Linked DNA regions of Homo sapiens: all the other regions are linked to region 1. The links are contacts of gene promoters, found by promoter capture Hi-C in blood cells and fetal thymus (Javierre and others, 2016). All regions are on one chromosome and are shown on one strand. The core of a region is centred on a gene start or on the middle of the fragment in contact, and the rest is flanking DNA. Distances in the headings are between cores, read along the strand shown.

The links. Contacts are between HindIII fragments. The CHiCAGO score rates a contact against its expected background, and 5 or more counts as called.
Region 2: a fragment that was not itself captured here is called in contact with the fragment with the promoter of NEK2 in region 1 in 2 of 17 cell types (naive CD4 T cells and non-activated CD4 T cells); the score reaches 6.0 in naive CD4 T cells.
Region 3: a fragment that was not itself captured here is called in contact with the fragment with the promoter of NEK2 in region 1 in 11 of 17 cell types (non-activated CD4 T cells, fetal thymus, naive CD8 T cells and 8 more); the score reaches 12.9 in non-activated CD4 T cells.
Region 4: a fragment that was not itself captured here is called in contact with the fragment with the promoter of NEK2 in region 1 in 1 of 17 cell types (total CD8 T cells); the score reaches 5.1 in total CD8 T cells.
Region 5: a fragment that was not itself captured here is called in contact with the fragment with the promoter of NEK2 in region 1 in 6 of 17 cell types (total CD8 T cells, erythroblasts, naive CD8 T cells and 3 more); the score reaches 6.2 in total CD8 T cells.
Region 6: a contact is called between a fragment that was not itself captured here and the fragment with the promoter of NEK2 in region 1, in 1 of 17 cell types (fetal thymus). The highest score is 5.8, in fetal thymus.

What each region holds. Positions count from the first base shown.
Region 1 is chr1:211,673,936-211,677,647 of GRCh38, forward strand. It overlaps NEK2 (NIMA related kinase 2), which reads right to left and starts at 1,686. Exons shown (of 8, transcript NM_002497.4): 1 at 1,449-1,686; 2 at 361-578. The coding sequence starts at 1,544. NEK2-DT (NEK2 divergent transcript) reads left to right here and starts at 1,827. Exons shown (of 4, transcript NR_148994.1): 1 at 1,827-1,931; 2 at 3,132-3,219. RefSeq lists enhancers at 1,390-1,649, 1,672-1,966. The HindIII fragment of the contact is 3,147 bases long and covers 1,086-3,712 here.
Region 2 is chr1:212,473,722-212,477,433 of GRCh38, forward strand. No RefSeq gene overlaps it. Among named protein-coding and RNA genes, the nearest start is that of LINC02771, 2.7 kb to the left of the region's middle. The HindIII fragment of the contact is 9,575 bases long and covers 1-3,712 here.
Region 3 is chr1:212,429,962-212,433,673 of GRCh38, forward strand. LOC105372906 (a long non-coding RNA gene) reads right to left here and starts at 2,856. Exons shown (of 3, transcript XR_922577.4): 1 at 2,664-2,856; 2 at 1,780-1,883; 3 at 1-370. It overlaps NENF (neudesin neurotrophic factor), which reads left to right and starts at 2,959. Exons shown (of 4, transcript NM_013349.5): 1 at 2,959-3,159. The coding sequence starts at 2,983. RefSeq lists a cis regulatory region at 1,034-1,321, a silencer at 2,745-3,304 and an enhancer at 3,465-3,554. The HindIII fragment of the contact is 1,512 bases long and covers 880-2,391 here.
Region 4 is chr1:212,383,568-212,387,279 of GRCh38, forward strand. PACC1 (proton activated chloride channel 1) reads right to left here. Exons shown (of 8, transcript NM_018252.3): 3 at 3,324-3,533; 4 at 1,707-1,858. Among named protein-coding and RNA genes, the nearest start is that of PACC1, 29 kb to the right of the region's middle. RefSeq lists a silencer at 1,516-1,699. The HindIII fragment of the contact is 2,602 bases long and covers 479-3,080 here.
Region 5 is chr1:212,357,670-212,361,381 of GRCh38, forward strand. PPP2R5A (protein phosphatase 2 regulatory subunit B'alpha) reads left to right here. Exons shown (of 13, transcript NM_006243.4): 12 at 1,017-1,118; 13 at 2,969-3,712. The coding sequence ends at 3,101. Among named protein-coding and RNA genes, the nearest start is that of SNORA16B, 6.7 kb to the left of the region's middle. The HindIII fragment of the contact is 1,771 bases long and covers 1,073-2,843 here.
Region 6 is chr1:212,323,536-212,327,247 of GRCh38, forward strand. All of the region lies in intron 1 of PPP2R5A (protein phosphatase 2 regulatory subunit B'alpha), which reads left to right. Among named protein-coding and RNA genes, the nearest start is that of SNORA16B, 27 kb to the right of the region's middle. The HindIII fragment of the contact is 5,536 bases long and covers 1-3,712 here.

The sequences.
Region 1 (3,712 bases), core at 436-2,935:
TGCCTTAGCCTCCCAAGTAGCTTGGACTACAGGCACATGTCACTATACCTGGCTAATTTTTGTAGAAACAGGGTCCCACTATGTTGCCCAGGCTGGTCTTGAAATCCTGGGCTCAAGTGATCCTCCCGCATCGGCCTCCCAAAGTGTTGGGATTACAGGTGTGAGCCACCACACTCAGCCTATAAATTGTTATTTTGATATAAAATATGGGTGTTGATTCACCAGGAATTTTCTAAAGTACTGTGGACCTACCAAACAAATACAAATACACTCTTCCATATTACTGATCCTAAAACAAGATGCTTAAAATAAATGAAACTAGACCAATTTCAGCTTACATTTTTAAAAGATTATGCTTACCTTTCCTTGGTTCCCTTTGTAATTACACTAGCCAGATCCCCTCCTTCACAATATTCCATTACAATGTACAGTGTTGTATTGGTCCGGTCAATAATCCGATCATAGTAACGAACGATGTTTGGATGTTTCAGTTCACGAAGCAAATTCACTTCAGAAACAAGCATCTGTTTCTCAGCTTCTGTCATGGAGCCATAGTCAAGTTCTTTCCAAACTAATATCTGAAATAAGAATTTCCAAGGTATGAATGAACTCATTATGCTCAAAAACAAAGAATGAAAGTTCCAAGATTTAACAAATTACCTCCCTTTTAATTATATCCTACAATCAAGGTCATTATCTAATTTAGTTCAATGAACTTAAGGAGCTGTGAGTTTACTTCCATAATCTTCCTCCAGTTCTAAGCAGTAAATGTATGTTGTGGGGAGACAAACGGGAATGAGGCACATGAGGACTCCCCCAACCCCTACCCTCAGTTGGTTAGTGGGAAGTTGGCTAAAAGGTACTATAGTCAAAATTGGGGTGAAGGTGGTCAAAGTCCCTGCCCCATTCCACCCCAGTCGTGTTTTCCCAGGATGAGACACCTTGGTAAAGATCCCTCCATCAGCAGCCAGGCAGTTTCCTGTCCAATGTTACTTTCTGTAAAAGTTCTACCTATATACATTGGGAAATATGAATCCAATAATCCTAATAATGGATATTTTGAGGGAGTCTGACTGCAGATACAAAGCTTCGGGTTCTGGTAGTCCTGCCCCTTTCTTGTGCCTGAGAGGGCCACTCTTAGAGCTCTAAAAACAGCTCAGGAATTAGTTACCTGTCACCAATGGAAGGTCCTTAGCAAGCCAAAGCAGGAGAAAGAGAGAAATGGGGAGAGAAACGGGAAAAGATGGAAATACATATATCAAAAGAAGCGGTCTCCCATCCTTTAAGCCACCCAGGACAGGCTGTCAGATGCAGACCCAGGAAAGACGGTTTAGTCTTCCGGGCACCCATTTCCTCAGCCCTGTCGGTTCCCTTCGGTGGCGCAGGGCGCTCGCCCCGAGGCGACGAAACCTAAGCAGGGGCAGGCGCAGGGTAGGTCCCACGCTCACCTTGCCATCACTCTTCCTCCGGATCTTCTGGCAGCGGCCGTAGGAGCCTGTGCCAATGGTGTACAACACTTCATAGTCCTCAGCCCGGGAAGGCATGGCCGGCCAGTCGCCAGAGTCGCGCTGCCTCACGCAGGTTGCGCCGCCAAGTGCGGAGCTCCAGGGACCAGGAACTCCAGGGACCTGGATGGAGAAGCCCCCGAGCAGCACTGACCCGCCACCCCTGCCTTGGGCCCCGTTTAACCGTCGCGGGCCCTGATCTCGCAGTCTATTGGCAGGCGGTGGGCCGCTTCGCCTCTCTCATTGGCTAAGAAGAACACAACAATACCCTAGGCATTTTGGGAAAAGTGTCACTAGGCAACCGCGTCGGCGTCTGCTTTTAACCTGTGGGAGAACCCGGCGAGCTAAGCCAAACGGAGGGCGGGAGAGAGGAAGCGGCAGCTGGCGCCTCTCGGCAACTCTAACCCTCTGATAGAGATCGCCAAGGTAACCGAGATCTAAGGTCCTCCCCTCAGGCTTCTTTGCACACCGCTTCCACCAGATGCCTTCTGACCTTTGCACTCTGGCCCCTCACACTACCTACTCTCCCCGGCACACGCATTCCTCGCTCAGGTTCCAGTACCCTGAACCTGGGTGGGGTCACGTTGAGGATATGCTGAGAGCTGAATACAAATTAGAAATACAGACTCCCGGGTGGGCGCGGTGACTCACGCTCGCCCGTAACCCTAGCACTTTGGGAAGCCGAGGTGGGTGGGTCGCTTGAGCCCAGGAGTTCAGACCAGCCTGGGCAACAGGGCAAACCTCGTCTCTACTGAAAATACGAAAATTAGGCCGGGCGCTGTGGCTCACGCCTATAATCCTAGCACTTTGGGAGGCCGAGGCGGGCGGATTGCTCGAGGCCAAGAGTTCAAGACCAGCCTGGCCAACATGGCGAAACCCCGTCTCTACTAAAAATGAAAAAAAAAAAAAAAAAAGTAACAGAGCATGGGGTTGCAGGCCTGTAATCCCAGCTTCTTGGGAGGCTGAGGCATGAGGAATTGCTTGAACCTGGGAGGCAGAGGTTACAGTGAGCCGTGCGCCACTGCACTCCAGCCTGGGCGACAGAGTGACACCCAGTCTCCAAAAAAAAAAAAAAAAGGAGAAATACTGTCGCTCTCCTACCAAGTACTTTACACGTCTTGTCCCGTTTATGTGTGCCAAATACACAATTAACCCTATCGACAATACTTCATTGAACACAGATTCTCTTTTACGCACCCACACACCAACGTTCTCAGCTTACCCAGCCAAATGAACAGCCCCATGTTTACCAGGGAAGGAGGACTTAGAGGCCTCCATCCAGGGCTTGTTAGAGGAATATGTAAATTACCAGAAAGCTAATAATTTGGAAATGCATGAACAGGCCAGTTTTCTTTAAATATCTGTTCAGCAAAGGATTAAAAGACACCTGATTTTCTATTAATAAGAATTTAAAAGCTCTTTATGTAAAAATAAGGGACTTATTACATGCCCTGAATATAACATAAGATAATTGGAATTGCCAACCAGGAGAATTTTTAAATTAACATTCAAGGGCACTGTCTTACCTCAGGGGAATAGGACCAATTTAGGTTTCAAAAGTTATGTAAGGCACTGCAAGTGGCTGTGTTAATTAGCATCATTTTTTTATTTTTGTGCCTCTTACAGATTGGTATCCATAGAGCTTGCTGTGGTTTGAATGTATCCCCCAAAGTTCATGTGTTGGAAACTATTCTTAATGCAAAAGTGTTAAGAGGTGAGACCTTTAAATTGATTGGGTTATGAGGGCTACCCCTCACGAATGGATTAACGTAATCACAGGAGTGGGTTATCTTGAGAGTCGGTTGGTTATAAAAATGAGTTTGGCTTTCCCTTGCTGTTTCTCTTACCATGTGATGCCTTCTGCTATTTTATGACCCAGAGAAAAGGCTGCTGCCAGATGCTACCCCTTGATCTTGGACTTCCTAGCTTCCAGAACCGTGAGCCAAATAAACTATTGTTTATAAATTGTCCAGTCTGTGGCATCCTATTATAGCAACATGAAACTGTATAAGACAGAGCCCTGGCCGGGCACGGTGGCTCACACCTGTAATCCCAGCACGTTGGGAGGTCAAGGCGGGTGGATTACGAGGTCAGGAGTTCAAGATCAGCCCGGCCAACATGGTGAACCCCGTCTCTACTAAAAATACAAAAATTAGACACAATGGCAGGCACCTGTAATCCCAGCTACTCGGGAGGCTGAGGCAGAA
Region 2 (3,712 bases), core at 403-2,902, 800 kb after region 1:
GCCAGGCCTTGTTGGTTAGAGACCAATGCTTAAGAGCCTGCGGAAGAACAGCTTACGACCACTCTGTGGTTTTTCCTCCCCATTTGGCTGCCTGAGCGGTGCAGTGGGAGCTGCAGATCAGGCTTCAGTAGGCAACAGCTGAATAGGCGAGAGGGTATCTGCACACCTTCTGGCCAGTCTTGACCTCGGGTTGGGTAGCAGCGAGCCTTGGGGTTTTCATGAACAGGTGACTGGGCCAGGTGCAGTGACTCATGCCTGTAATCCCAGCACTTTGGTTGGCTGAGGTGAGAGGATCGCTTGAGGTCAGGAGTTTTGAGACCAACCTGGGCAACATAGCGAGACGCCATCTGTATTTAAAGAAAAAGAGAGAGAGAGAGAGAGAGAGAGAGAACAGGTGGCTTAAGATAGGCAGGTGAGGAGCGGGGCCCTCAGTGTGAGCCAGTTATTGTCCATGCAGCCCTTTGGCCAGCCCTAGCTCTGCTGCAGTGTCTGGATCCAAGGGCTTCCCTCATGTGCTGGCTCAGCCTGGCTCCTCTGCTCCTTCACAGGTCCGCGGATCAAAACTCTTTTTTCGTATTTCCTTGAACAAACCATAGGTTGTAAAACTGCTGCAAACAATTATTGTGAAGCCAGAGGGAGAAAATATTAAGATATGTGGTGCTTTAACTTTTTGACTGGACTCACAGTAAGAAATGTATTTTATATTGTAATCAAGTGTGTACACACACACACACACACATATACACTCAGATACACACAACTAAAACAGAAATTTTCTTGAAACAATTATTAATTGTACTATATGCAATACACTTCATGTTTTGTATTTCATTCAATTTCATTTAAATAAAATGTGATTTGAGATGCTAGTTAGTGGGTCATGAAATCAATTTAGAGACTCTCAAACTACATTAAAAAACACCAGGTTAGCTGAAGATGCTGATAGCTAGAATAACGAACAGACTGAATAGTTCATCTGTCTTGACTCCCCCTGGGACCTGAATTTTCTGAGGTCAGAGGCTGAGCCCTCCCTGTAAGTCCTAATGTGGGATCCTGCACCCATTAACCTTCTGAAAATACAGACACTATGGCAAACACCAGGACTCCAAGCAGAAAGGGGGTCCAGGGGAGAAGGCAGGAGGTGCCTGTCTTCAGAGTTAACATTTCGTTGGGATTTATTTAGCCATAAAATGACTTCCAGGGAACAGGAAACAGGTTGAATGAGGCTAGAGAACAAGATGAGGACATTAGAGGCAAAACACTCCCCAAAGCTGTTCTGAGCATCCTGAGCATTGCTGTGTGATCAGCACAAAGAGGAAGGAATAGCGAATGGTTAAGAGGATAGACTCAGGAGCCAGCTGGCCTTGGGTGGAACCTGCCTTGCTATGCCTCAATTTCCTTATTCCTATAAAATGGCGATGTAGTACTATTCAATTCTTAAGAGTTGTTACCTAATCAGTATGCCAGTTATCAATGCTAAAAAAATAAAGCAGCTGAACTGCCCACACAAATCAGGCTCCAACTCTTGCCAGCGACGGTCAAGATTTTGGGGCTCCAAGTATGTGGGCAGGTCCGTGGCTTTCTTCCACATTGTGCAGAAAGGGGAGAATGTGGGTTTCTGGGCGCAGCTTTGCAATTCCAGCAAGCCTGGCATATGTCTTAGATGAATGAATAAAGGATGAATGGGTTCTCTTTTCTCTGTCCCCACTGACATTGCTTAGCTGAGGGCAGGGCCTCAGCTACTAGACTCTCTATTCCATACTCCACACTCTTGCTAAAATGATCTTTCTAAAGTGCAAATTTGAGAATGTTTCTTTCTAGGAGGAATCCCTATATTATGCCCCTGCTTAAACCCTTGGAAGGCTTTCAATGGTCTATGATGCATTCCAAACTCCCTTCTAGGCAAAGCCTCAGGCCATCTCTCAAACCCACTCTTCTTCTTTTTTATTTATTTATTTTTTATTATACTTTAAGTTCTAAGGTACATGTGCACAACGTGCAGGTTTGCTACATAGGTATACATGTACCATATTGGTTTGCTGCACCCATCAACTTGTCATTTACATTCGGTATATCTCCTAATGCTATCCCTCCCCCAGCCCCCAACCCCCTGACAGGCCCTGGTGTGTGATGTTCCCCCGCCCTGTGTCCAAGTGTTCTCATTGTTGAGTTCCCACCTATGAGTGAGAACATGCGGTGTTTGGTTTTCTGTCCTTGTGATAGTTTGCTGAGAATGATGGTTTCCAGCTTCATCCATGTCCCTGCAAAGGACATGAACTCATTCTTTTTCATGGCTGCATAGTATTCCATGGTGTATATGTGCCACATTTTCTTTAACCAGTCTATCATTGATGGACATTTGGGTTGGCTCCAAGTCTTTGCTATTGTGAATAGTGCCACAATAAACATACGTGTGCATGTGTCTTTATAGTAGCATGATTTATAATCCTTTGGGTATATACCCAGTAATGAGATTGCTGGGTCAAATGGTCTTTCAAGTTCTAGATCCTTGAGGAATTGCCACACTGTCTTCCACAATGGTTGAACTGATTTACACCAACAGTGTAAAAGCATTCCTATTTCTCCACATCCTCTCCAGCATCTCATCTGTTGTTTCCTGACTTTTTAATGATCGCCATACTAACTGGCGTGAGATGGTATCTCATTGTGGTTTTGATTTGCATTTCTCTAATGACCAGTGATGATGAGCATTTTTTCCTGCGTGTTGGCCACATAAATGTCTTCTTTTGAGACGTATCTGTTCCATATCCTTTGCCCACTTTTTGATGGGGTTTTTTTTTTCTCATAAATTTGTTTAAGTTCTTTGTAGATTCTGGATATTAGCCCATTGTCAGATGGGTAGATTGCAAAAATTTTCTCCCATTCTGTAGGTTGCCTGTTCACTCAGATGGTAGTTTCTTTTGCTGTGCAGAAGCTCTTTAGTTTAATTAGATCCCATTTGTCTATTTTGGCTTTTGTTGCCATTGCTTTTGGTGTTTTAGTCATGAAATCCTTGCCCATGCCTATATCCTGAATGGTATTGCCTAGGTTTTCTTCTAGGGTTTTTATGGTTTTAGGCCTTACATTTAAGTCTTTAATCCATCTTGAATTAATTTTTGTGTAAGGTGTAAGGAAAGGATCCAGTTTCAGCTTTGTACATATGATTAGCCAGTTTTCCCAGCACCATTTATTAAATAGGGAATCCTTTCCCCATTTCTTTTTTATTTTTCAGGTTTGTTAAAGATCAGACGGTTGTAGATGTGTGGTGTTATTTCTGAGGCTTCTGTTCTGTTCCACTGGTCTCAGGCCCATTCTTCACCACCCTCTTCACACCCTAGCTTCTGGTCCTACCAAATAATTTGCATTCTCTGACGGTGCAATATAATCTCAAGTCTCCATGGTTTTGCCCATGTCATTCCCTGCACCTTGCCTGTCACAGCCCTGCCAGCTGGTCTGGCCCCATTATAAAGACTTATGACGCTCAGTGGAAGCACTGTGTCCTCTGACCTGTAGAGCCGGGAGCTTCTCCTCTGTGCTCCCACTTGCTCTGACATTATTCTGAGGAGGAAAGCTGAAAGGCTTGCCCGGCTTCTGGACTCTGGCCACTAGAGAGCAGTAGAGGGTAGACAAGCATCTGGCCTGGGAAACCCCAGACCTGCTCTTCTTGCTCTGTCCTTCCAGACACCGCCACATCTCACTCCCGGAATCTGCA
Region 3 (3,712 bases), core at 386-2,885, 760 kb after region 1:
TTGTGTGAGCAACAGGGCTGTTTATTCACTTGGGTGCAAGTGGGCTGAGTACGAAAAGAGAGTCAGCGAAGGTAGATAGGAGAGGGGCAGCTTTATAGGACTGAGGTAGGCAGTGGAATGTTACAGTTAGAGGTGGTTATCTATTGTCAGCAGAGGAGGGGGTCACAGGGTCCATGGTGGGGAGATCATAAGATTCATTGTCCAGAAGAAGAATGTCACAAGGTCGATTGATCAGTTGGGGCAGGACAGGAACAATTCATAATGGTGGAACGTCGTAAGGCTGGTCAATCAGTCAAGGCAGGAGCTTCTTTTGTTGCACTTCTTTTGTGTTTTTTTGGCTGCTCCAGACTTCTTGGCTCCTGCAGGCCATCTGGACTTATAGGTGCAGGTCACAAGGGTTACAATGGCTGAGCTTCAGCTCAGAGGCCTGACACTGTCTTCTCCCCACAGGCAGCCACAATTGACATTGAGCTTCAAGCCAAAGCCATAGCTAAACACAGCTGCAGTTTTCAATAATACACGCCATGCCCTTACCCTCTTGACTGAAGAAACATCTCAAATTAGACAGATAGCCTTATGAAACTATGGCTCTGGACATGTTAACAGCAGCTCAAAGGGGGAACTTATGCTATAATCAAAACAGAATGTTATGCATACATTCCAGACTATTCACATAATGTTACTCAGGCCACAAAAGACTTAGACACCCACATCTCTGCCATTGACACGCTGTCAGTTGACCCCATATCAGCTTGGTTCTAACAACTGCCTAGTCCTTGGGAAACTTTTTTTGTTTAGCATGCTTGGGATAATTCTATTCATTCTGTTTTGTGCTGTGGAATATACTGCATTGTACTTTTTATGTAGGAATAAGAGTTAAGCTTATTCAATGCTTCTTTAAATTTAACACGTTAATTTTCTAGATTTCACCTTTTTCTGGGACTTAGAATTATGTATGATTGGTCCTCACTATACAGATGCTTTCTGACTGGCTAGCTCTCTACTTTGGGCAAAGGGATCCTAATGGTTAGGCAGGAATATCATCGCTTCTGTTCAGCTTGAAGTTACTGAAGATGGATCTCTGTCCCCCTGCACCCCTTAGGATTAAAGGTCTCCTTGTAAAAAGGAGGAGGGAATTATGTCAGAAGTGTCCTAACCAGAGTGATTCCATCTTGAATAAAGGTCAGATAAAGCCAAACCTGCTGGGCGACTTTCCCAGGAAGATAGGCACTCTTCACAAGATGTTTATGGTTGAGGAAATGAGATAATGGAAAAAGGCATTCTTAGTTTAAAAATGAGTTTCACTTTAAAGATAACAGTACACCCATAAATTCTCCCTGAAGTCAATAGTTACACAAGAGAATAACAATACTAATAGTCTGTAACAAGCTGATCATAGGCTTTTGTAATGAAGTACGCTAGTTTTAGCCCTATAAAAGCAAGCATTACATTGAAGGCAGAGGTGCTCCTATATAAACAATACTTGCTTAGTACTACTTCAAAGCAAGGATACTACTCAGAAACACAGTAGTACTATTATTAGAAATGGAGTAGTTTCTAATGAACTATTTTAACTACTATGCTCTGCGACTTGCCCTGATTCTTTGCCGTGGACGTCTAAGAACCTGCTCTTGGGTCTGGAATGAGACCCTTTTTCTGTTAATTCCTCTATTCCAGTCTTGAAAGTAAAAGCCAGTCTTGAAAATAACCTGTGAAGCCCCCAAGATCCACCCCCACTCCCTTACCCGCTTCCTTCCTGACTTCACCTACCCCTCTTACCTTCCCTTGATCCTCCAGCAAGCCGGGCATCCTCATTCCTCCGCATTTATGCACCTGATCCTTTGACCAAAGTGCTCTTCCCTCTAGACCGCCTCCTTCGCCTCCTGTAGATTTTTATGCAAATACCCTGTTCTCAGTGAGGCCTTCCCTAACCTGCCTATTTAAAATGACCATCCCCATAACCGGGCACCGTTCCTCACACCTGTAATCCCAGCACTTTGGGTGGATGAGGTGGATGGTTCACTTGAGGCCAGGAGTTCGAGACCAGCCTGGCCAGCATATAGTGAAACCTCATCTCGACTAAAAATTAAAAAAAAAAAAAATTAGCCAGGCGTGGTGGTGGGTGCCTGTAATCCCAACTACTCTGGTGGCTGAGGCAGGAGAATCACTTGAACCCGGAAGGTGGAGGTTGCAGTGGGCCGAGATGGCGCCACTGCACTCCAGCGTAGGCGACAGACTCCGTCTCAAAAATAAATAAATACATAACAATAAAATAAAATAAAATGTCCATCCCAGTGCTCCCTATCTCTTTGCCCTACTTTTTCTCCCTAGTATTTACCACCATCTAACATACTACTTAGCATCTTATTGTCTATCTGCCCACACAATGTAAGCTTCACGTGGGCGTGGATCTGTCTTGTTCAGTGGTGAGTCCCCAGTGACCTGGTACATGGAGGTACTCAAAAATATTTGTTGCATAAAGTAATGAGCAAAGTTTGGCACAAATGTTAGCTATTATTATTTCAGGGCGTATCGGTAACAGCACCCTACCCTTTGCAAAAATCTCCTTGGGAACCAGAAACTTAAACACAACCAGGAAGAAAAAAAATCAGCCAAAAATAAAAGCGAATTAAGACAGTTGGGGTCTTATTTTAGAAATATACCTTTCTAGGTTCTGGTATGTTGGGCTCTGTCATCTTTCTACCTGATCAAGGAACCACTGTGACATTTTTTGGTAACTTCCAGTCTGTAGTTTGGATTTAGGAGTTCAGGATTCCAATCCTAATTTCCAGGTTCCAGCTGCGTGGCCCGAGTAGCCCGGCCAGCCCCACCCCGGGGCGCAGGAGGCGCGCGAAGGGCGGGAGTTCTCGGGTCCCCGCCCTCGGGGAGGCTCTGGGCGCGGGGCGGGACTCCGGGACGCTGGGCGGGCGTGCTAGGGCCCCGCCGCCCTGGCCCGGCCTTGCCTTGCGCTGCGCGCTCACCATGGTGGGCCCCGCGCCGCGGCGGCGGCTGCGGCCGCTGGCAGCGCTGGCCCTGGTCCTGGCGCTGGCCCCGGGGCTGCCCACAGCCCGGGCCGGGCAGACACCGCGCCCTGCCGAGCGGGGGCCCCCAGTGCGGCTTTTCACCGAGGAGGAGCTGGCCCGCTATGGCGGGGAGGAGGTAGGCGGGGGTGTCGCGGGCCGAGGGACCCGGGGTGGCGTCCGATCTGCGGCGAGCCGAGCGGGGACCCAGGAGGCGCCGGCGGCCCAGGAAGCTCTGGGGGACGCGCGGCCCGCGGCGGGCGCCCTGGGCCGGCGGGGGGCCTCCTCTCTCTAGGCCCCGAAGGATGGCCGAGGGGTGAGGACGAGTCCTCAACAGTCGGAGCGCTCCGCTTTGCCCGCACACCCCACCCTGAACTTCTCCCTCGGTCCCCGGGAGATTTCCCCTCTAGCCGCCTTTTCGTTGATGATCTGCGTACAGACCTCAGAACTTTTTGGTTTTCATGTTAGCATCAGCCGAGGCGTTTACTGTGCCCACGCATAGTGGGGAGTGGCGGGGGACGGAGGGAGGGAAGCAGAGCCTGCTCCCTGGGTTAGGTGGGAATTGAGACAGGTCCTGGGATAAGCCAGTCTTTGCCTGCACTTCCTTTTCCTGCCCCTGTATCCCAGGCCTCTGCATCGGACTCCTCAAACCCACTTTTAGGTCATGTACCCCTGGGGCTCAGCCAAAGCTG
Region 4 (3,712 bases), core at 530-3,029, 710 kb after region 1:
CTTGGTCCTTTTCTGTCATTGGTTTCATGCAAATGTCTGGTGACCATTAATTCTCCATTCTTATTTATGAATGAAGGATTAGGTTGACTAGTATAGGTCTGGGTTTTGGTTTCTTCCAAAGTAGTAAATTTCTGTTTCTCTAATAGGCCTCTCCCTTGCATGGGAAAGCTAAGTATGCTCTGTGGAAGCACACTGAGTTTTCCAGTGTGTTTTACTCTGGGAAGAGTCCTTTCCTTTAGTTCTCTCTCCTTTTCCATTGTAGAAGTCTGCTCTGTTTCCTATGCCTACACAAAGAATCATCTTCCCTTCGCTTCTGTAGAGAATGGTTCCAGGGTCTTTTACCCAGAGGCAACCATCCCCAGCGGCTCTGCATACCTGGGGAGGGTATAGGGTGTGTCTGGCCCAGCCAACAGGCAGTCCAGTAATGACTACCCTGCTCTCTAACGGTGCTGATTCCAAGCTGGGGGTTTGGAAGGAAAGCTTGTACCTCTACAACAGGTCTCTCCTTCATCTGTTTTGGGTTAGGGATTTGCTCTAATTTGTTTGCTCCACCAATCTGGCCCAAGCTGTTTTTTATGCTTTATACCAGTTCCTCAAAATGTCTGGTCCACTGGTGATATCCTTTCTTCACGTGCAAAGCTATTATTGATGTTCTAGTCTGTTCTATCTCATTCCTTAGAGAATCATTTTAGCAGGATTTTAGGAGGGGGCCTAGCGTTCACATACTAACAAAAAAAAAATTAGTGTTATTCTTTCATCTTAAAACCCACTAACAGTTCCCTGTTACCCAAGGGAGCAAGTGTGGCTCTACAGCACGATGCATGTTCTTTTCTCATCTGGCCATTACTCTGTCCACAGCTTCATCACCCATCAGTCTTCCAGGGCTCCTGACCCTATGAAACATTTCCCCACCAACTGCAATTGTGCCCAGAGGCACAAGTACAACATGTCGTCTCTTCCCTTTAGGTCATGGTGCAATTTCCTCTGCCTAGAAAACCTTTCCTTCCCAATTTCATCTGGAAAACTATTGTAGCCCCTTTCAATGCTTTCTGAAGCAAGAATATGAAATGAAAAAGATGAGATGTAAATCAATACAAAACGCCTACCCTGTCTTTGAAACCCTGTGCAGTGCCACTCCTCCAGGGCGCTCCTAACCCCATCCCTCAGTCATCCTTCCCAGCCGTGCTGTGTTGTGCACGACAGCATGGCCAGCCCAGGGCCCAGGAGTCCTTGTCCCCAGACCGACGCTCCTTTACGCTGGCGTATTAATTTCAAACTATGGATTCTCAGGCCCCACCTAAGGAATTATAATTCAGTTGGCTTCACATGGAACCTAGAAATTCATATTTTCAAAAAGTATCCTGGCAATTCTGTCAAGTGGTCAGGTATGGGACCCACTTCGCTATATCGCACCAGCCCCACCCTTTAGCCCTGCCATTCTTCCATTGGGGACAGGGTCTCACCGCACTGTCAGGAATCCCTGAGCATTACTCAGCAAAGGCTGGAGGCCTCACTGTCCTCCCTGAATGCAAGTGAGCCAACCACAGCCAAGTGTCCACATGGCACAGCCGCATGTCTCCTTGGGGACTAAGGCCCCACACTGAGTGAGTGGAAGAAGGACTCCTAGGAAAAAGGAAACTTGGGGCCTTGGGTTGCGGGGCTAACAGAGCAGCTGCCCAGACCCAGCTCAGGCAGACAGGAATTACCACAGTCTGATTGGAGAAGGGGTCCGTGTAGTTGATCCTCTGGGTGGTGCAATTCATGTCACCCGGCTGGCCAGGGCTTGTCAGAGGAGGAATGACCTCGTAATGGTGCTTACAGCTGAGCAACTGGGCCTGACCGGGGTACAAGGCAATACCTGGGGGCACAAACAGGAAAAGCAAGTGTCAGAAATCACACTCCTGACCACATCCCTGAAATCATCTCACACCTACCAACAACCTACGTTCTGGACTCCCTGGAGGACTGCAGGGAAGGGAGAAGAAAAGGGTTTCAGAGGGTGAGGAGCCACATCCCCTGGCCTCAGAAAGCCCCGCTGTAGCAGAGGGCACAAGCCCCTCCTCAGTAAGCCCCTGGCCAACCTGGGATCCAGCCGCCCTGATGCCCACATCAAAACCCACTCCACCTCAGAGCCCCGCTCCACACCCTCCGAAGGAGTGTCTCTTGACTCAGCCCCTGTGCCACCCCTCTGGGCCAACACCCACCTGCAGAATCACTGGGAGGCTCTAAACTGTGGAACTCCTCAGAACTCATTTTGTCTCTTAGACTGGGAGCCCCAAGTGTGCAAGTCACATCCCAAGAGTCCCTCCCTCTTCCCAGCCCAGGCACCTCTACTGACAGTAGCTGTCCAGCCTCAAGGGCAGCAATGCTAAGACAGCAGCACATGGCATCAGAGACAGACAGACTTCAGAGACACTAAGACACCAGACAGAGAAAGTAAAACGTACAGATAAAGAAGACTCAAGCAGACACACAGAGAAGAGGGACAAACACAAGACAGGAAGAGATGGGCAGAGGAGCCATGACCAGCACACCTGACTCTGCTGGAGGCTGGCAGGAAGCCCCAGAGAGAGGGCACCCGGACTCTGGCTCTGCCATGTGAGCAGGCCCTCCCACAGGTTACTCAGGGGCATCTGTGGGCAGAACAGGTGGCACACACTGGGTGGACAGGGCCCAAGTCACACAGCTCATGCCTCCTCATTTACTCTACAGCCCCTAGAACATCCAGTGCCAGCCCTGCAGCCCAGAGCAGATAGCTTGCTCTATAGCAGAGTGGACTCCCCACTCAGGGACCAGACACCCCAGTGAGACAGGTATACCCAGTGTGGCCTGGGAGTCCCTCTCCAGGCAGGGTTGAATGGCCTCGCCTCCCCTGCCATCCTCCCCACCCCACAGTCCAGCCTTGACTCCTGCTTCTCCTCATCCCTGCCCTCTGGCCCCAGCCAAGTTAGTCTCATCCTCTCCAGAGAAGCCCTCTGCCTCCCTAGACACCCCTTCGCTCTGCTGATCCCCATCCCAAAGACACTCTCTTCCCATCTATGTGCTTTTCGAGGCCCATCTCAAATCCTACCTCTCTGCCAAGCTTTCCCTGACCCCTCTAGTAGCCTGCAGTAGCTGCTCCAGGCTCTGTCCATTTCTGTCCTCAGCACGTAACACACTCCCAACAGCAGCTCCTTGGGCATAGACTCTATACCTAGACTATGCTTGGTTGGACTCCTCTGCCCTGCCCGTAGTACCACAAATACAACGGCAGCTCAGGGAGTATCTGCCAGCTGACACCCTAGATCTGGGGCCCTGATGCCTGGCCCAGGGGCAGGCTCTACCTGGGGCATCATAGCGATCCACTTCCTTGTAAGACACAGACATGACAGGGTGCTTGAGTTTCTCACGAAAGTCTGTGATGGTCCGGTAGACCAGGAAGACGGCCACAGCCATGAGCAGCAGGTAGATGAAGATGAGTAGGACCGAGAAGACGTTCTTCAGGCAGGCCTTGCTGAAGCGGATGCTGCTGGAGGCGGACTCGCTGTCCAGGCCTGACAACAACAAAACACCATGTGACCCAGGGCACAGGGACAAGGTACAGACAGAGATGGCCAGCAACCTCCAGGCCCTTGCCTGCCTCACCAAGGAGGTGAAGTCACCTGCACGCCCAACCTTTCCACCTCACCCCACAAATCATAACAAAGGGCACCTGTAAACATTTACTACACAG
Region 5 (3,712 bases), core at 708-3,207, 680 kb after region 1:
GCGGGCGCCTGTGGTCCCATCTACTCGGGAGGCTGAGGCAGGAGAATGGCATGAACCTGGGAGGCAGAGCTTGCAGTGAGCCAAGATTGTGCCACCGCACTCTAGCCTGGGCGACAGAGCAAGATTCCGTCTCCAAAAAAAAAAAAAAAGAGAGTCTTGCTCTGTTGCCCAGACTGGAGTGCAATGGTGCAATCATACCTCACCGTAGCCTCAAACTCCTGGGTTCACGCAATCCTCCTGCCTCAGCCTCCCGAGTAGCTACGACCACAGGTGTGCACCACCATACCCAGCGAATTTTTATTTTTATTTTTTTTGGACAGTTGAAGTCTCACTATATTGCCCAGGCTGGACTGAAACTCCTGGGCTCAAGTGATCATCTCACCTTGGCCTCCCAAAGTGCTGAGATTATAGGCATGTACCACTGTGCCCAGCCTTCATGTCAATTTAAAATTGCAAATCTCCCTGGAGGTTGTGGTCAAACCCTCTTGGGGAGACCAACTGAACATTTGCAGAGGATACACAAACTACTCCGTTAATGCAGAGTTGTGTTGGTCTACTCTCAGTGTATAGTCTCCCCTCTATAAATGGCACTGTCCCAGGGGAAAGCCGAAGTGCTAAGGGTAATATATTCTAACTTCTTTAACATCCTTATCCGGCTTTCTACTTTTCATAAGTTTTGGTAATTGGATCTTTTTCATCTTCTTTTAATGTTGTTACTCAGGATTTCAGACATGAGACTGTAAAGCAGAAATGAAGATAACTATAGTGAACATTTTTAACTAGAGTTTAATGTAAGCATGATAAAATGGAAAAGATTTAAGTTTTCTTAGACTGTCTCTACCACCACTTGCTGTATGACCTTGAGCATATTACAAACCTCTTGAGCCTCAGTTTTATCATCTCTAAAATGGATTAAATGAAATCAGCCAAGCTTTAACCCATTTTAGAGACCATAGTGTTACATTTCCTCTCTGTTAGCAGTATCATAACTCAGGACTGGCTCATTTTCATTTCAGGACCATTGTAGCACTGGTATACAATGTGCTGAAAACCCTAATGGAAATGAATGGCAAGCTTTTCGATGACCTTACTAGCTCATACAAAGCTGAAAGACAGAGGTATTTGATATTTTGAATTACAAAATTATCTATACATTTTATGTTAGTTGAATGTGATTCAGTTCAGGAAGGTATCTTCTCTCAGTTCAGATTTTCATATTTAAGAAGTTAATTACCTTATAGTAAACATTACAATGTGAAAGTCTCTTAACATATAAGTCATTTCCAGATAAACTAGCCCCAGTATTTTTATAAATTTGTTAAAGCAGAAAAAGCAGTAGCATTTATTTTTGAGGGTAGTTACATAATTTACTTCCTCTAAATGGTTAGATTATGATTTTAATGTGGATCATAAATCCTGTTTATCTCATTCTGAGCCTTAGATTTCCTCAGTCTGTTAGCATCTGCATATGAAATATAATTTATGCTGAATTTTAAATATCAATTTGTACAATTTGATTTTTTATCCATGCATTTACGAAAATCCTTTTTGTCCACGTGGGCTTCCAGAGTGAGCTTTACTTTTCAAGTGTTCTTTGTTAGCAGTAGGTAATTCTTACGCTGTGGATTATCAGAAGGTGGTATTTTAAAGTCAGCATAGTTCTCCTTTGGGAAGAGGGAAGTCACATAATGATATGGCTTAGGGTACTATTAATATGTTGTCCTTGCAATAATATGTATTTTAGAGTATAAATGTTAGCACGTATCAGCCTTTAGGAACATGGCCTAGTGATTACCTCTTTTTGAGAATTTCATAAATTACTATAAAATAATCTTTCAAGAGTTACTTTCTTCTCATATGTTTATTTCAAACTCAAGAAGCACTTTCTTAAACTTAAGTGGTTAGTAACCAGTGTACCTGAGCCCACCCATTATTTGAGGATAACAGTTACCATTTACTTCTAATAAGCATATTACCTGTTCTGTTTAGAAAAGCTATCTATTTTGACAAGTTCCTAGTTATGGTTATCTTAAAGTAGAAAATGGATAGCCTTTCTTCAAAGCCATCCAGCCCATTAATAACTAACTCAATGCATTATTTCCTTTAAATAGCAGCATTCAGGCAGGAATAGAAATTAAGTACATGTTTTGAGCCTCAGGAAGCAATGGGAAGAAAATAAGATGACTAGGATCATAGGAAACTTGTATTTGAAAAATATGTATTTCACATGACTAAGAATATACTCATCATTTCTTACCTGCATAAATCAGCAAATCCTTTAAAAGGATTTGTCCTTTTAACTCATAACTGCAGAATTATAAGCCTATGTTTTACATGTTCATGGAGCCTTTCAGAATAGACAGGTTCAAGTTACTCAGAAATGTTTTCCTTAGAACTGAAATTAATTAGTTGAAACGACATATGAAATATTTTGACCTTCATTTTGTTCTAGAGAAAGATTACTGAAACTAAAGTTTTCATTTGACATGTAAAAGAGGAGCTAGTAAGATACAAACTGGTTAGTGGCTAGAGATGTGGCTGTTAGTGGCAAAAATGATGTGGCTTCTGTCTGGTGTGGTGAAGGAAGTGCTTCCTACTGACCTAGTGGCCAGCCCCTTCAGCCTTTGTAATACTGATTAGACTACTACAACTGCAAGATGTTTACGTGAGAAAATTGACGTGTAAGTACTTTGTTGACTATAAAGTACAGTGTCATGGTAGTGATAATGTGTAGGGGACAGAAAGCAAGTAGTAACGTCTAGCTGGTACAGGAGATGCACAGACTCAGTACATTTAGGAGAGTGACAAGAAGAAATTAGGTGCTCCAGGTAAGTGGACTCCAAAGCTTTAGCAGAGGGATTTAAGTGAAATGTGGGTAAGTAATGTGTTCTCCAGTAAGCTGTCAAACAGCACCTCTCTTTGGGTTCTGAAATAATTTCTGATTACAAAAATTTTGGTTTATCTACAGAGAGAAAAAGAAGGAATTGGAACGTGAAGAATTATGGAAAAAATTAGAGGAGCTAAAGCTAAAGAAAGCTCTAGAAAAACAGAATAGTGCTTACAACATGCACAGTATTCTCAGCAATACAAGTGCCGAATAAAAAAAAAGCCTCCCACCTCTGCCGGATAGGCAGAGTTTTGTATGCTTTTTTGAAATATGTAAAAATTACAAAACAAACCTCATCAGTATAATATAATTAAAAGGCCAATTTTTTCTGGCAACTGTAAATGGAAAAATATATGGACTAAACGTAGCCCTGTGCTGTATCATGGCCATAGTATATTGTAACCTTTGTCTAATCATTGGATTTATTGTGTCACTTCTGAAGTTTCACAGAAATGAATGAATTTTATCATCTATGATATGAGTGAGATAATTATGGGAGTGGTAAGAATTATGACTTGAATTCTTCTTTGATTGTGTTGCACATAGATATGGTAGTCTGCTCTGTATATTTTTCCCTTTTATAATGTGCTTTTCACACTGCTGCAAACCTTAGTTACATCCTAGGAAAAAATACTTCCTAAAATAAAACTAAGGTATCATCCTTACCCTTCTCTTTGTCTCACCCAGAAATATGATGGGGGGAATTACCTGCCCTAACCCCTCCCTCAATAAATACATTACTGTACTCTGGAATTTAGGCAAAACCTTAAATCTCCAGGCTTTTTAAAGCACAAAATATAAATAAAAGCTGGGAAAGTAAACCAA
Region 6 (3,712 bases), core at 711-3,210, 650 kb after region 1:
GGAGTTGTAACATTAACTGCTTCTAAATACTTCTAATGTTTGGGAAAATTCAGATGTGACCTATCCCACCCAAGCATTATGTAATGCTGGGATATAGTTCTGGGGGAGAAAAAACAAAAACAAATTTAAATGCATCTTTTAGGCTAAGAAATGGATTACTGAATGGATAAGCTATGAAAAACATTAATTTCTTTCTAGAGGAGACCCAGGAGTTAGGTGCCCAGAGAAAGTCTTTTTTAAAAAATGTGTAACATGGGGCTGGGCACGGTGGCTCACGCCTGTAATCCCAGCACTTTGGGAGGCCGAGGTGGGTGGATCACGAGGTCAGGAGATCGAGACCAGCCTGACCAACATGGTGAAACCCCGTCTCTACTAAAAATAGAAAAATTAGCCGGGTGTGGTGGTGAGTGCCTGTAATCCCAGCTACTTGGGAGGCTGAGGCAGGAGAATCTCTTGAACCTGGGAGGCGGAGTTTGCAGTGAGCAGAGATTGTACCACTGCACTCCAGCCTGGGCGACAGAACAAGACTCCATCTCAAAAAAAAAAAAAATGTGTAACATGTTCTTAAACCTACTACGATTATGCTTAACGATGGGGCTATGTAATGAGAAATTCATCATTAGACAAATTTGTCATTGTGCGAACATCATAGAGTATACTTCCACAAACTTAAATGGTATAGTTTACTACACATCTAGGCTGTGTACAAACCTGTACAGCATGTTACTGTTCTGAATACTGTAGGCAGTTTGCAAAAGGAAGTGTATGTGTGTCTAAACAAGAAAAGGTACAGTAAAAATAGGTTTATATGGGACCACCATCACATAAGCAGTCTGTTGTTGACAAAACTTTGTTATGTGGCGCATGACTGTATTTTCCAATCCTGAAAGTCATTTTGTGTCTTCTTTTTTGCTGGCCACAGGCTACTTAGCCTGTAGTGTTAGAAAAACATACTTTCCATTTGTATTTCACCTTGAAATATATGCACTCATCTTCATGATTGTTATCTCAATCCATTTAATTCTACCATCAAGGTAGATTGTTGATAAAAATGGTCATTATGATTAATTTTTTTTTTTTTTTTGAGACAGAGTCTTCTTGCTCTGTCCCCCAGGCTGGAGTGCAGTGGCACAATCTGGGCTCACTGCAAGCTCTGCCTCCCGGGTTCACGCCATTCTTCTGCCTCAGCCTCCTGAGTAGCTGGGACTACAGGTGCCTGCCACCATGCCCGGCTAATTTTTTGTTACTTTTAGTAGAGACAGGGTTTCACCATGTTAGCTAGGATGGTCTTGATCTTCTTACCTTGTGATCCACCCACCTCGGCCTCCCAAAGTGCTGGGATTACAAGCATGAGCCACCGCACCTGGCATGATTAATTCTTAAACATAGCCATGTTGTAATAATTCATTATTTATGTCGCTGTTGATATCCAGCACCAATTTTGAACTTCTCCTTGTTCAGTAGACTGTATTTCAGTGCAGTATCTTATTCTTCAAATTCAGAGTTTTTTCAAGCATCAAATAAATATTTATTAACTCCTTATATACCCTACCCTAGATAAAAAAGAAATAAAAAGGAAACCCTGCTCAGTGAATAATCCTTCCCCTTGAGGAGCCTGAAATCTTTTGGTGGTTGATGAAAGAAACATCTGTTGAATATAGGCCTAAAGATAATGGGTACTCAAATACGTAATTGAAGTTGTGAACACTATAGATCATGAGAGATGGGAGAGATCATTGTATCCTGACCTACCTAAGGGAAATTTTGTGGAGAATGTGAGATTAAGTTTGTTCTTAAAGGGCAAGTAGGATATGGAAAGATAGGGGAGGAAATCTAGTGAAGTATTTCAGGTAGGGAAAAGACTTTGAACAAAGACACGGCCTTCAGAGAATAAGAGGGCTGGTTTCATTCACATTGAGGAGGTGGTAGTGGGAGGAAGGAGAGAATAGGACTGGCGGTATAAGGTGATCACATAATTGAAGTGGGATCTTGTGTGAGTTTGTATTACTATTAGCGTTAGGGAAAAAGGGCTAAAATATATCTTAAAACTCTTTTAGAACGCAGCCTCTCAAGATATGGCAACTGTTTCACCAAGTCATCATTATGGAATTTATATTAATTATAAAGATATATATTATAAAATAAAGCCATATATTAGGGATATAGATATCTTTGAAAATAGATAACTGTATAAAGATATTACTGAATAACTGAGAGAACTATGGGGATTTCCTGTACACTATGGATTGAGAAGGATTCTTATAGCCCACATAGTCAACATGTATCTCGTTTAGTGTGTAGTACATACATAAGCAGAGGTGTCCATCTTCTAATTTTCAAACTAAGTACCAATATCAAGCAGACATCTTTTTGTTAGTTGAAATAAATTATTAGCAGACATCATTTATTAATGAAAATTAAATGCACATAACCATTTTAACTTTAAGGGTAAAAAGCCCCAGAAGATTTAAGAAAAGGGCCATTCAAGATACAACTGATTTTACAGAGAAGAAGCAGATTCTGCTTAGAATGACTAATGGCCATTTTGGGATTAAAAAAAGGTAGTAAACATAAGACTGCTGGTTATGTGTAGCATGTATGTTGGCTAGTGGTTCATTTTCACCCCCAATAGAATGAATTTTAATTCTGGGATAAAGATAACTGTTTAGCATATTACTTAGTATTAAAAATAGTTGCAAATTCAATGTTTTTTTTTTTTTTAAGGATACATAAAAATATTCCCACTTAAGAACAGTTCCATAAAAGGTGATCCTGAATCAGGGTGAGGTGGCTCACACCTGTAATCCCAGCACTTTGGGAGGCCGAGGCAGGCGGATCATTTGAGGTCAGGAGTTTGAGGCCAGGCTGGCCAACATGGTGAAACTTCATCTCTATTAAAAAAAATACAAAAATTAGCTGGGCGTGGTGGTGCAGGCCTGTAATCCCAGCTACTTGGGAGGCTGAGGCAGGAAAATTGCATGAACCTGGGAGGCAGGGGTTGCAGTGAGCCAAGATCGCGCCACCACACTCTAGCCTGGGCAGTAGAGTGAGACTCCGTCTCAAAAAAAAAGTGACCCTGAATCAAAAACTTTACCAAATTGGTAGTAAAAAATGTCATATATGTCAATATTACATGGATTCTGAATGCCAATCTTAGGCTTATAGACTTTAACCTTCATAAAGCAGAGAGTCATTATTGATTCTGGAACAGGAAATGTTAATACAAGTTCTTTGTAAGTGTGGAGCTATCTTATTTTACTGGCATAGCCACAAATGAACTGCAGCAAATTCAAGTCTTCATATTTTTACTTCAAAAATCATGTGACTTTTGCTGTTCTTTGTAATATATCCACATTTGTTTTATTGTAAAATTATTTAATAATAATTGATCAATGAAAAGAATGTGCCTTATGTCTTGTGACTTTGTGTGAGCATGCTTAGAATACCTGACCTACTACGGTTCAGCAGTACCTTATCTAAATCAGCTTTTTTAAGGACAGCAACTTGAATATAATTGAAAGGTAATTTTACTAGCTTCCTGCCCTGGAGTAATTACGAAGCATAGGCATTCTTGATTAGGTTATCATCTTTATGAAGATTTCTGCCTGTATCTTTATATAAAGTATGTACTGGTTTTGAATAGAGGCATAGTTTTGTATATTATGAGATAAATATCAGAGTTGAATATGATTTTTAAAATTTACTTTCAGAA